2 separate regions of the Homo sapiens genome follow, and region 2 is linked to region 1. Evidence: promoter capture Hi-C in 16 types of primary human blood cells and fetal thymus (Javierre and others, 2016). All regions are on one chromosome and are shown on one strand. Each heading gives the region's core, a stretch centred on a gene start or on the middle of the fragment in contact. The rest is flanking DNA. Distances are from core to core; before and after follow the strand shown.

What was found. Contacts are between HindIII fragments. The CHiCAGO score rates a contact against its expected background, and 5 or more counts as called.
Region 2: a contact is called between a fragment that was not itself captured here and the fragment with the promoter of DMTF1 in region 1, in 1 of 17 cell types (erythroblasts). The highest score is 6.6, in erythroblasts.

Annotation. Positions count from the first base shown.
Region 1 is chr7:87,150,521-87,155,665 of GRCh38, forward strand. It overlaps DMTF1 (cyclin D binding myb like transcription factor 1), which reads left to right and starts at 1,933. Exons shown (of 18, transcript NM_001142327.2): 1 at 1,933-2,035. It overlaps DMTF1-AS1 (DMTF1 antisense RNA 1), which reads right to left and starts at 1,973. Exons shown (of 2, transcript NR_136253.1): 1 at 1,782-1,973; 2 at 903-1,138. RefSeq lists enhancers at 1,003-1,566, 1,482-1,721, 1,567-2,128. The HindIII fragment of the contact is 3,514 bases long and covers 1-3,228 here.
Region 2 is chr7:88,201,410-88,206,135 of GRCh38, forward strand. It overlaps SRI (sorcin), which reads right to left. Exons shown (of 8, transcript NM_003130.4): 8 at 3,706-4,726. ADAM22 (ADAM metallopeptidase domain 22) reads left to right here. Exons shown (of 32, transcript NM_001324418.2): 32 at 1-1,480. Among named protein-coding and RNA genes, the nearest start is that of SRI-AS1, 13 kb to the right of the region's middle. The HindIII fragment of the contact is 1,967 bases long and covers 2,494-4,460 here.

The DNA of each region.
Region 1 (5,145 bases), core at 683-3,182:
TAATTCCTAAATAGGTAAATCCTTGGATAATATTTAAAACCTCATCCATTCCCTAGGTACACATTGACTAAATAATGAGGTACGGATAACATAGAAGTATAACTGCAGAAAATTGCTCTAGGAATCAAGTTGTGTTATGGATAGTCTTTACATTGATTATTCAAGCTAAAGGGATAGAGACGTTATTATATTTTTTTAAATTATGCATTAAGCTAATATTAAAATACATTTGTCATCCCCAAATAAATACCAATTGACTTGGGAAAAGGTAGTTATAAAAGAAACTCAACCAGAAAGGGAGAATTTAGTTATGAGGATGCACTTGACTTTTTGCGGGGAGTTAGCAGCGTGCAGGCTGACCTAAAATTTAGCAGAGGAGAATGGATAGCCCGACTATAATTTATATATCACTATTTTGTGCCTTAGCAAAAATAATCCTATATGGTTATGTCTTATGAAAAATATGGCTCATTAGGAACCACCTTATCAATGTTAATGTCAACAATTTTGCATATGTAATTATTATTTTATTAGAACTGCTCTTTGAGTAGTTGTATTGCTTTCCTGGCTTTAAGGTTTATTAGTTACCATTTTTAATGCTTAATACACGTCAGATTCCATGCAAACTACGCTGTCTACAATATTCTGGAAGGTACATCTTATTACTCCTAAAGTAAACAAAGCTAAAAGAGGTGAAGTGCCATATCCACTACTAAGAAATGGAGCCAAGATTCACACTCAGGTCTGACTGCCTGAGTCCATACCACGATACTATTCTGCCTCATAGTTTTGCTTACATAAACATTATTATGTACTTATTAAAAAATGGAATGATACACGGCTTAACTCCAACAGAATGCAGAGTGCCACAAATTAGTAATAAAGTTATCAACACAAGAAAATGCTGCTTCTGAGATTTATTTTTGAAAATTAGTCAAACATGTCGATCCTCCAGTAAAGCAAAGCATTTGTAAACTGGTTGTAATCATTTGTTTTCGTTATGAAAGTACTGCCAAAGTGTATTTTGTGAACTGCAACCGGGTAGTTCAGAACACAGGCTTTGGAGCTGAGGCTTCAATTCTAATTCCACCGCCAACTTGGGAGCCCTTGGACACATTCCTTCACTTCTCTTTGGTTCCTGTGTAAAATGGGATTCATTTGTAATAATTGTAGCGATGCACTTAGAACTTATGAACATTAAATGAGTTTAATATACGTAAAACATTTACCTGTCACATACGCACTCAAAGAATGCTGGCTCACATTACAGAACCCAAAGGCTTATTTATCCTTTTCGTTTATAAGGGTATTAAAACGCGTTTTCTATTTAGGATGGGTTTATACGGCTGCAACCCAAGGAGCATCTGTACTTTTAAGAGGAACTGGGCACAGCAAAACAGCATCTTCCTAGTCTAACAGTGAGACTACATTCACAGAGGACACATTTCATCAAGAACGACTTAACACGCCCAGATATCTCATATTATGCCCCTGCGGTAAGGCAAATCAAGTATGAAGACACACACTCCCTGTTTTCTTCAGCACTGAGATCACTGGTTCCCTCCGTTCCACACCGCGGCTCCCTCGGCTCGGAGCCACAGGGAACTATGAAAATCGGCACGCGAGGCCTAAGTGTCCCCAGAACCAGAGGAACCACAGTTGCGTCATAGCAGAAGGACCTCTTTTACAGCATCAGCAGTGGGATAGTCAGTGCCGAGTTTTCCTGGCAGGACAGCCGACAACCACCGCCACAGACCAGTACAAACATTCCAACCCAGGACCTTTTTTCGCGCGCCGACACAGCCGGAAGTGACGCGTACAGCCAGCACGCTGGGCCGCCAGCGGGACAGACGAGCGGGAGGGGCAGCGTGCGGGGAGCTGGGGGCGGGGCGCGGCCGCAGCTCCGTTTCCGGTGGCTCGTCGCGCTCGCTCACTCCAGCTGCAGCCACTCTCGCCCGTGGCTGCTTCCTCCATCCTGGTATTTTTTGGAGCTTCCATCCTGGTTCTTCCAAAGTGCCCGGACCCAAAACAGGAAGTAAGTGCGATGGAACCTTCAGGTTCCAACCGCCGCCAGGGCCGCTCCGCCCAGTGGAGCCTGTCCGGCCCCCTTGCTGCCCGCTAGCTCCCGCCGGCTGGCGCAAGCTGTCGGCGCCGGGGCACTGCGGGCGGGGTCGGAGCCTGGCCTTCCTGACGTTGCAGCTGCCGTCCCCGCACGTTCCGGCCAGGGCCTCCCTCTTAGGGCCGGGCGGTGCCCGTGGCTCAGGCTGCAGAGTAGGGAAGCGAGCGGCTGCCGAGGCACAGCGGCGATCCGGCGGGGGCGGAAAATGGCGGCGGCTTCGGAGGAGCTAAATGGCGCCGGGACCCCTGGGGGGTGGGGTGGGCCGGGAGGTTGAGTAGAGAACTGGGCCAGAAGGAGTGGAGACAGTAAGGAAGCCCTACTTGTTTTCTCGTGGTGTTCTATTTTTAGTTTTTATTTTTGTTACGTTTTCGGTTTTGTTTTATGGTCCAGCGTAGGAGAGGTAGGCTTGGGTGGGGTCGAGAGAGTGGGGGTGGGTCTCGACCCAACTTCCCCCCCTTTGCTTTTTTGTTCTTTTCCCTCGTTTGCGCTTTAGATTCTTCTGTAATTTTGCGGGGGTTCAGCCTTGCTCGGCGATTCACGGCCCAGACATAGAGAATCGGGATAGCTGGCCGAACCGTCTCTCTCAGTCTGACTCTCTTTAAAGAAGGGATGTGGGCTGGGGCGCGGGGACAGTCCTGGTGGAGCACGGAAAATGCGGCTGTAAAGTTGTAATTACCCTATTGTGCCGAGTTCCGAGAAAGTTCTTAAAATTGTTAAGTCCACTTTGTTCTCTAAAATGTACTTCGCTTTGAGAATTTCTTCAGGGAGGTATGTAGAATGTTTTACCACAATCTCCAGAGCAGATTTGAGAGTAGAAGTGGCCAAGTGCCCTTTTGTGCAATTGAATGATAGAGCATATGTCTTTATATAAAATACTCGGTGTAGATAAGGAAAAGGATAATAGTATACAGTATGAGTCAGGACTCCTCCCTTTCTCTCATTGAATTTGTGTAGTTGCTTTTTTCGCAACTCATTCATCTTTGTGTACCTCTTTTTAATGTACATGGATTTGATTATGTGTGCCTCCTTTCTGACAGTCGAGGCTGCATGTTGGGACGTCCTACAAAATGCATATTCTGTGGAATTATTTTTTAATATGACATGTCTTAAGCTTAAAGTGACGCCATTTGGAAAATTTTAAATTATACCTGTATTTTTAATTCGTGGGAGAAAACCATTTGTAGCTTTTAAGCTCCAAATACGAAAATATTCTTCCACTATGTTGAAAGTATTGCAAAATCTGTTTTTTTCAGTTAAGGGTTTTCATGTTTTTTCATTACTTCAAATTTCTTTAAGCTGGTTTTGAAATTATATTTCAAATAGCTTTCTGAGGATTACTGTCTTTTAATAACTTGAATAATTTGCCATCACTTTAACATTTAAAGAATGACTATGGCGATACACCAAAATCTTATCTTTTTGCTCTTATGGTGTACTTAGAGACAGGATTTCATGTATTTGGTTAGGATTTAGAAATTCTGTTAAGATTTAGAGAAAAAAGGTTAAAGCTACATTCCTTAACGTTACAAAAATTGTCATGCTGAGAGAATCCAATTTGGTGTGAGAATAATTTTTTTCTTCCATACAGAAAGCACAAAAACCAGCCTGATTGTATCTGGAAAAAACCATTATGTTACAGGTGTGAAAAATACATTTCATGATTGTGGTGATTTTTATCTCATTTTAACTCTCGATACTAGGTGCTTCTGTATGCCACCAAACAAGCTAATTTTTTTTCTTACTATTTTAGTTGATAGGCTCACCCCAAAATATGCTTTTGGGGACTGATTTAGCACCTGCATATTCTGCGTGAATCTCTTTAATTGGTTGCAGTTGAGCTAATGGTGGAGCCAAAATGCTATTGCCCTGTCTTCATCAACATTTAATCAGTAAGTACTGGGCATTGCATCTTTCTTAGAACTTTAAGTTCATACGTTGCAGTTATATGAATACATTATTTTATGTAAACATTTTTCTGAGTGTTCAGGTTTTAGAAGTATTTTGAGGGGAAGAAATCAAAGTTTGGGCGTTATGACTTGAGCTTTGAAAACAGCATGGTTGGGAAATGTTTACTGGTGGAGACTCATATCAAAAGTAGATAGCTGTCCTCTAGTCCTTTTTTTAGAGATCTCTTTTTTCAATCCTTTAGTTATCTCATTACACCCCAGGGGTGCTTTAAAGGTGGGGAGATAGTGTATGTATTTTATAAGGTTAGTTTGATATCACTGGTTAGTATTTAAATAACAACAAAAAACTTGCCTTTACCTCCTCCGCAAAAAATCTTACCTTTCTATTAGCCTCATTTATCTCTCCAAAATCTACAGACTCTAATTTTTATTAATGGTGTAATAAACTTACATGTCCTGAAAATAACATCTCATTATTTTAAACAGTTGCCTTTGCCATGCTTCATTAAGTGCATTGGCTTAAATTAACACCTGTGAGGATGAATGGGATAATGTGAAACAAGTATTCCTAAGGATTTACTGCCTGGCACATAGATGTTAAAATATTGAGGGAGCTTAGAAGTGTTTTTGAAAGTATTGACGTCTTGCATCACTTGTATTAAACACACATCTGTCTGTTGCAAAGACATCAAAAGCTTAGAAAGGAACAAAGTTTAAGGAGGGTTCATTCTACTTTTTTTTATATCTTATGTAGAGACTGCATATTTAACACTGAGGTGGTGTTCTGCCTTTCCAAAATGGAGTTTTCCATTTTAATAGTCCATTTTTTTTCTTACCACCATCATATTTTTCCTATATGAAAGGATTTCCTAGGAATTGATATACTTTTAAATGCTTTGCAATTGCAGCTCCTTTATGTCTCCAAATGATACAAGAAGACCCGAGAAAGTGGTAAACTAAATGATTTTTATTAAAGTAATTGCCAAATATTAAAGATAAAATATGGATAGTTACCAAATGTATGTGGCGTTTGTTTACTTTCATGTCATTTCTCCGTTTATCTTGATGGTGCTTTCATTTTGTGAAGAAAATTCCTGTAATAGAAATCACAAATAGATT
Region 2 (4,726 bases), core at 2,227-4,726, 1.1 Mb after region 1:
AGTCCTGGCATAGACACAGAATGGATATTCACAGGAAGATTCCTGAGGCCAGATATGCAGGAGAGCACACATTGTCACAAGGGGTGTGGTGGGAAGAGAGGTGCTGGATGCCTAAGACAGACTTCTGTGCTTGGCAGATTGACTGAGTGTTGACTCTGAATACTTTGTGGTCCAGTCCATAATAGGCCAGTCACTCCTGCCTGATGCATCCCTGTTGCACTGTTCATAAAACCTGTATCATATGGGGAAGCTTCAAGGCTGGCAGGCTTTTCATCAAGTAATCATCATTCCATGTTCCTACGTATCCTTGAAATCAAAACCAGGCAATATGTGTGTTTTTGGTTTTGTTTTACAAAAAGGCATACAATGAGACGAATTCTTAAGATAATGCACATACAGAATCATCAATAAAGTTTCAAAGAGTTTATGAAGAAAAGGTATTTTCCTTTCTTGTAAAAAATGTTATATATATATAATATTCTGATCTGCATTCACCTTAGGGCTTAGCCTCTTATTTTATGAATTTTCAGGCTGTGATTTGTGTTGGATGGCTAAGCTCTAAAATAATGCAAATAGCCCCAATCTTTAAATATAGCGGTGCTAAGTTGAACAAGTAACACAATACAGAAAATGCTGATATGAATACTTAGTAATAATACAAAAGTTCCTGCTAAATTATATATGTGTATCACTGCCTGACTAGAAACCCCACTTTTCTTTTCTAATCCAGCACAAAATCAAACTCTGATTCTACAACCAGTCTTTTTAAAGGGCAAAAATGACTCAACACCTTTGTTTTGTATGGAAAACTTTTTTTTTTACACTAACTGCAAAACTGCTTTAAAAAAAGGCTTATTCAGGATAGATAAGCATGTACTCCTTTTTTAACTTGCTGGAAGACTTGCCCCTCCAAACTAGCACCCCCAAAAGACAACTTCTTTCAGAAACGGGGTGTTTTACCTAAACATAGTAGCTTACATGTTAGCCAGCAGTAGGTCGGCACTAGTGTTTTCCACGGTTATCACCTTTGACAGGTGATGTGCATCTATAGATAGTGGAAGCCACCCCATGAGGAGGTGTTAATAGCAGCATGGTTTCACTTTTGGTAATCAGGTAATCATGTGTATATACTTAGATTCGCATTATTTTAACATTTCTCTGCTACTCTGCACTTCAGGTTCGTTAAGCTATTTTAATAATTACTGGGGTTATGGCAAACACCAATGGAAATGTATATGGCAACTGCTTTCCTGAGCAAGTGTGATTTGTTTTATGGCTGTTCAAGTTATAAAATTGTTCTTACATTGTAGGTAAACAAAATCTTGATGTTTTTAAAGGTCACTGTAACTTAAGGTTCAAATTTCTGGCACAGTTTTATTAGTATTCACTTCGGAAGCTAATAAGATACCATGGTTTTCTATGTTACTCCCATTGTAACATTAGTAAAGTGACTTTCAATAAAAGATTTATGTTATTTTGATGCACGACTCTTCTTTTTCTCCCAGCTAGTTTCTCTTTCAGAAGCTTTGTTAGGGGTACAGTCAAGGGATTGTTTCTTTCCTGTTCACTGGTGTCCCAGAAGGGGTCACTAACATGATGAGAAATACAACCCTTTAGCAAAGCCTGAGTGCTCGATTTGTTGCAGTTTCCTCATCTGGATGGCAGAGGTAGTTTACTTATTTATCTATTTGCCTCTCCTTGTAAGCACTTCCTCTCTCACCCTAATGAGGATCAATTTCCTATATCCTGTCCTGTAGACCAGGCAGTGGTGCTTAGTTAATAAGGTCACCTGTGCTGCATTCTAAAGCACTGAGCCTAGGATGGGCTCATGAGTTCATTGCCTAAAAACTGTTCCACCCTGGCTTTTTCATCTTCCAGGCAGGCATTTTACCTACCCGTCATTATTCTGGCATTTGCGGGGTCCTTGCCATCTGTTCATAGGCTGCATAGTTAATAAGTTATAAGTAGTCAAGGTATTGTTTTAATGTGAGAAAAAGAGAAGGAAGTCACTGATGAAGGGTTTGTACATTTAGTATGAGATTTTAAAAGTTTATGGTGATTACACATAGCTCCATTTCTTGCATTTATAATATTTTAGTCATATAATAAGTCATTTAGATGAACACTGAAACAGTAACTCGGCTGAGCCAAAGCAAAGTCTAGTTCACAGATGGCAGCCAGCTCGTGGACTTGATGGTACCACCTGGAACATCATGCTGAAGGACAGTCTAAACTCCAGTTTGGCTCAGTAGAAGCAAGAGCTTTAATTTAATATGACTGCTGTGGTGCAAATCTACGCCAACTATCCCCAGGAAGCACCAGGTCTCTAGCAGCCACATTCCTATGGAAGTAAGTGCACGAAATGTGTTAAAAGTACTTCATAAATCATGGATCTCTTGAAACACATGAGTAAAGCACACATCTCCAAAATAAAATTAAATCCTAATGAGGGTGATTTGAGGAGCTTAATTCTCCAAATAGTTGAAGTATTCAAGCTTGAGCTCACAGCTTTACCATGCTCCAACTAGATTCTTTAAGAAAAAGTAAACAGACCAGGAAATAATTTTAAAGTAGTGGGTGAGGCTACACTAGAAGTATACAATGAATTAAACACAACCCAACATAAAATAGAAATAAGGCAACAGGAGATTTCACTTGTAATGAAGACTGGCTGTAATTAAAGGAGATGAATACATCAAATTTGTCAACGGGAAGGAAACTTTTTCTAACTGCAGGGACATACTGAAAACTATGCTCCATGCTTTTGGAAAGAATGGGTGAAAGCAGAAGGGGAGGAGATTAAGAGATTCGTTTTGAGGTATCAATAATTAAAACGGAATTAACTGAATGATGTCTAATATGGTTTGGCTCTGTGTCCCCACCCAAATCTCATCTCGAATTGTAATCCCCATGTGTCCAGGGAGGGACCTGTAAGCCTTACATCGAGGGAGGGAAGGGATTGGATCATGGGGGCGGTTTCCCCCATGATGTTCTTGTGATAGTGAGTTCTCATGAGATCTGATGGCTTTATAAGCATCTGGCACTTCCCTGCTTGCATTTCCATCTCCTGCTGCCTTGTGAAGAAGGTGCCTGCTTCCCCTCCCGCCATAATTATAAGTAAGTTTCCTGAGGCCTCCCCAGCCATGTGGAACTGTGAGTCAAACCTCTTTCCTTCGTAAATTACCCAGTCTTGGGTAATGTCTTTAGCAGTGTGCGAACAAACTAATATAATGTCAGAGGGATGCTTTTGTATTCACCCCAAAGCCAATTCAGAACCACAACTGATGCAGCACACCTTGGGACTTGTTCAAATATGGCCCATATCCTTCAGCAAGGGCCTTCTCTACTGCTTATCCTCAACCAGGAAATTACCATTTCCTTAAACTATGATTTCCTCAGAGGACCCTGGTGAGTTGAAACCAAACAGCAGGTGCTAGGACACTGAAGGTGAGCTCCCTGCCTCCTAATCCTCTGAGCCCCTTTTTGGCCCTTTTCTAGATAGCCCAGACTCAAGCAGAGCTTTATGGCCTCACAGACAATATACGGAGATGATGCAATCTATAGTCACTGTGTAATATATAGCAGGCTGCTTCACATTCTGATATGTAACCTGGGCTAACTAACTTGCCATAGTTATATGTTAGGTTTGAATAATATATATTTTAACAATATTTTAAAAAATTAATAGTGAAATGAGGCTAAAGATGCTTAGAGAAAATGTTTTATTTTCATTAGTTGACAACTAGTTGTTCAGTTGAATGGTAAGTTTCACACTGCATCCTAAAATAAGACAGATACTCTGCTGGCAAGTAGAAAATAGACTAATTTCATTTTTTATCTGTTAAGCTCTCTTGATAAAAAAGGCAAACCAGGCCAGTTTTAAATTTAAGAAACAGAAACATTGTCAGTGCTTCTTGTATCAACACACTTCATATTCAGAACTACTCCCAAGAGATAACATATTATCTCCTTTTCAAAGATGGGGAAACTGAAACTGGGCATTATCTATAATGACCAAACCACATAGTAAGAGGCACAAGCCAGCATTAGAATTCAGATCTTACTTGAAAGTGTACAGCTTAAAATTTTTTAAAAAATTCCTTCCATTATAAATGTAGTACCTGCTTACTGGAGAATGTTTGGAAAAGCAGTAAGAAGGAAGAAGATGAACTCATGATCCTGACTCCCAGTGGTAGCCAGATCAATGTTTTGGTACATACTTTCCGATACTCTGCTATGTGTATTTTTTAAAGTGTGAATACATGGTATATCAAAATGGATGTATCAGTATTTTAAAAACTAAAATCTGATTTTAAAAGGAAAGCATATAGAAAATCTGAAAAATACTGATATAAAGAAAATTAAAGTCATCTAGAATTCCATTCATCCAAAATAAACATTGTTAATATTTCCATATATTCCCTTAGTCTTTTTCTATCAATTTTCTTTTTATATAGTTAAGCTTATAATGTACAAGATTTTTAAGGAGAGTTAACAAAGGTTTAAATAGATGACAAAAAGGGACTTGGTGACAGATAGTATTTGCCAATCAAATTATTCAACAGGTTTTGAAGGGCGTGTGCTAAACTTCTAAGGTGAATCCTGACGTGGATTACTGGATTACCTTTTTTGTTGTTTTATTTCACCCAAGTGCGTCTATGTCATTTACCTAAGTTTTTATGTGTGGAGTATTCTTTGTAGGAGAGGAAAGATAACAGCTGTAGTC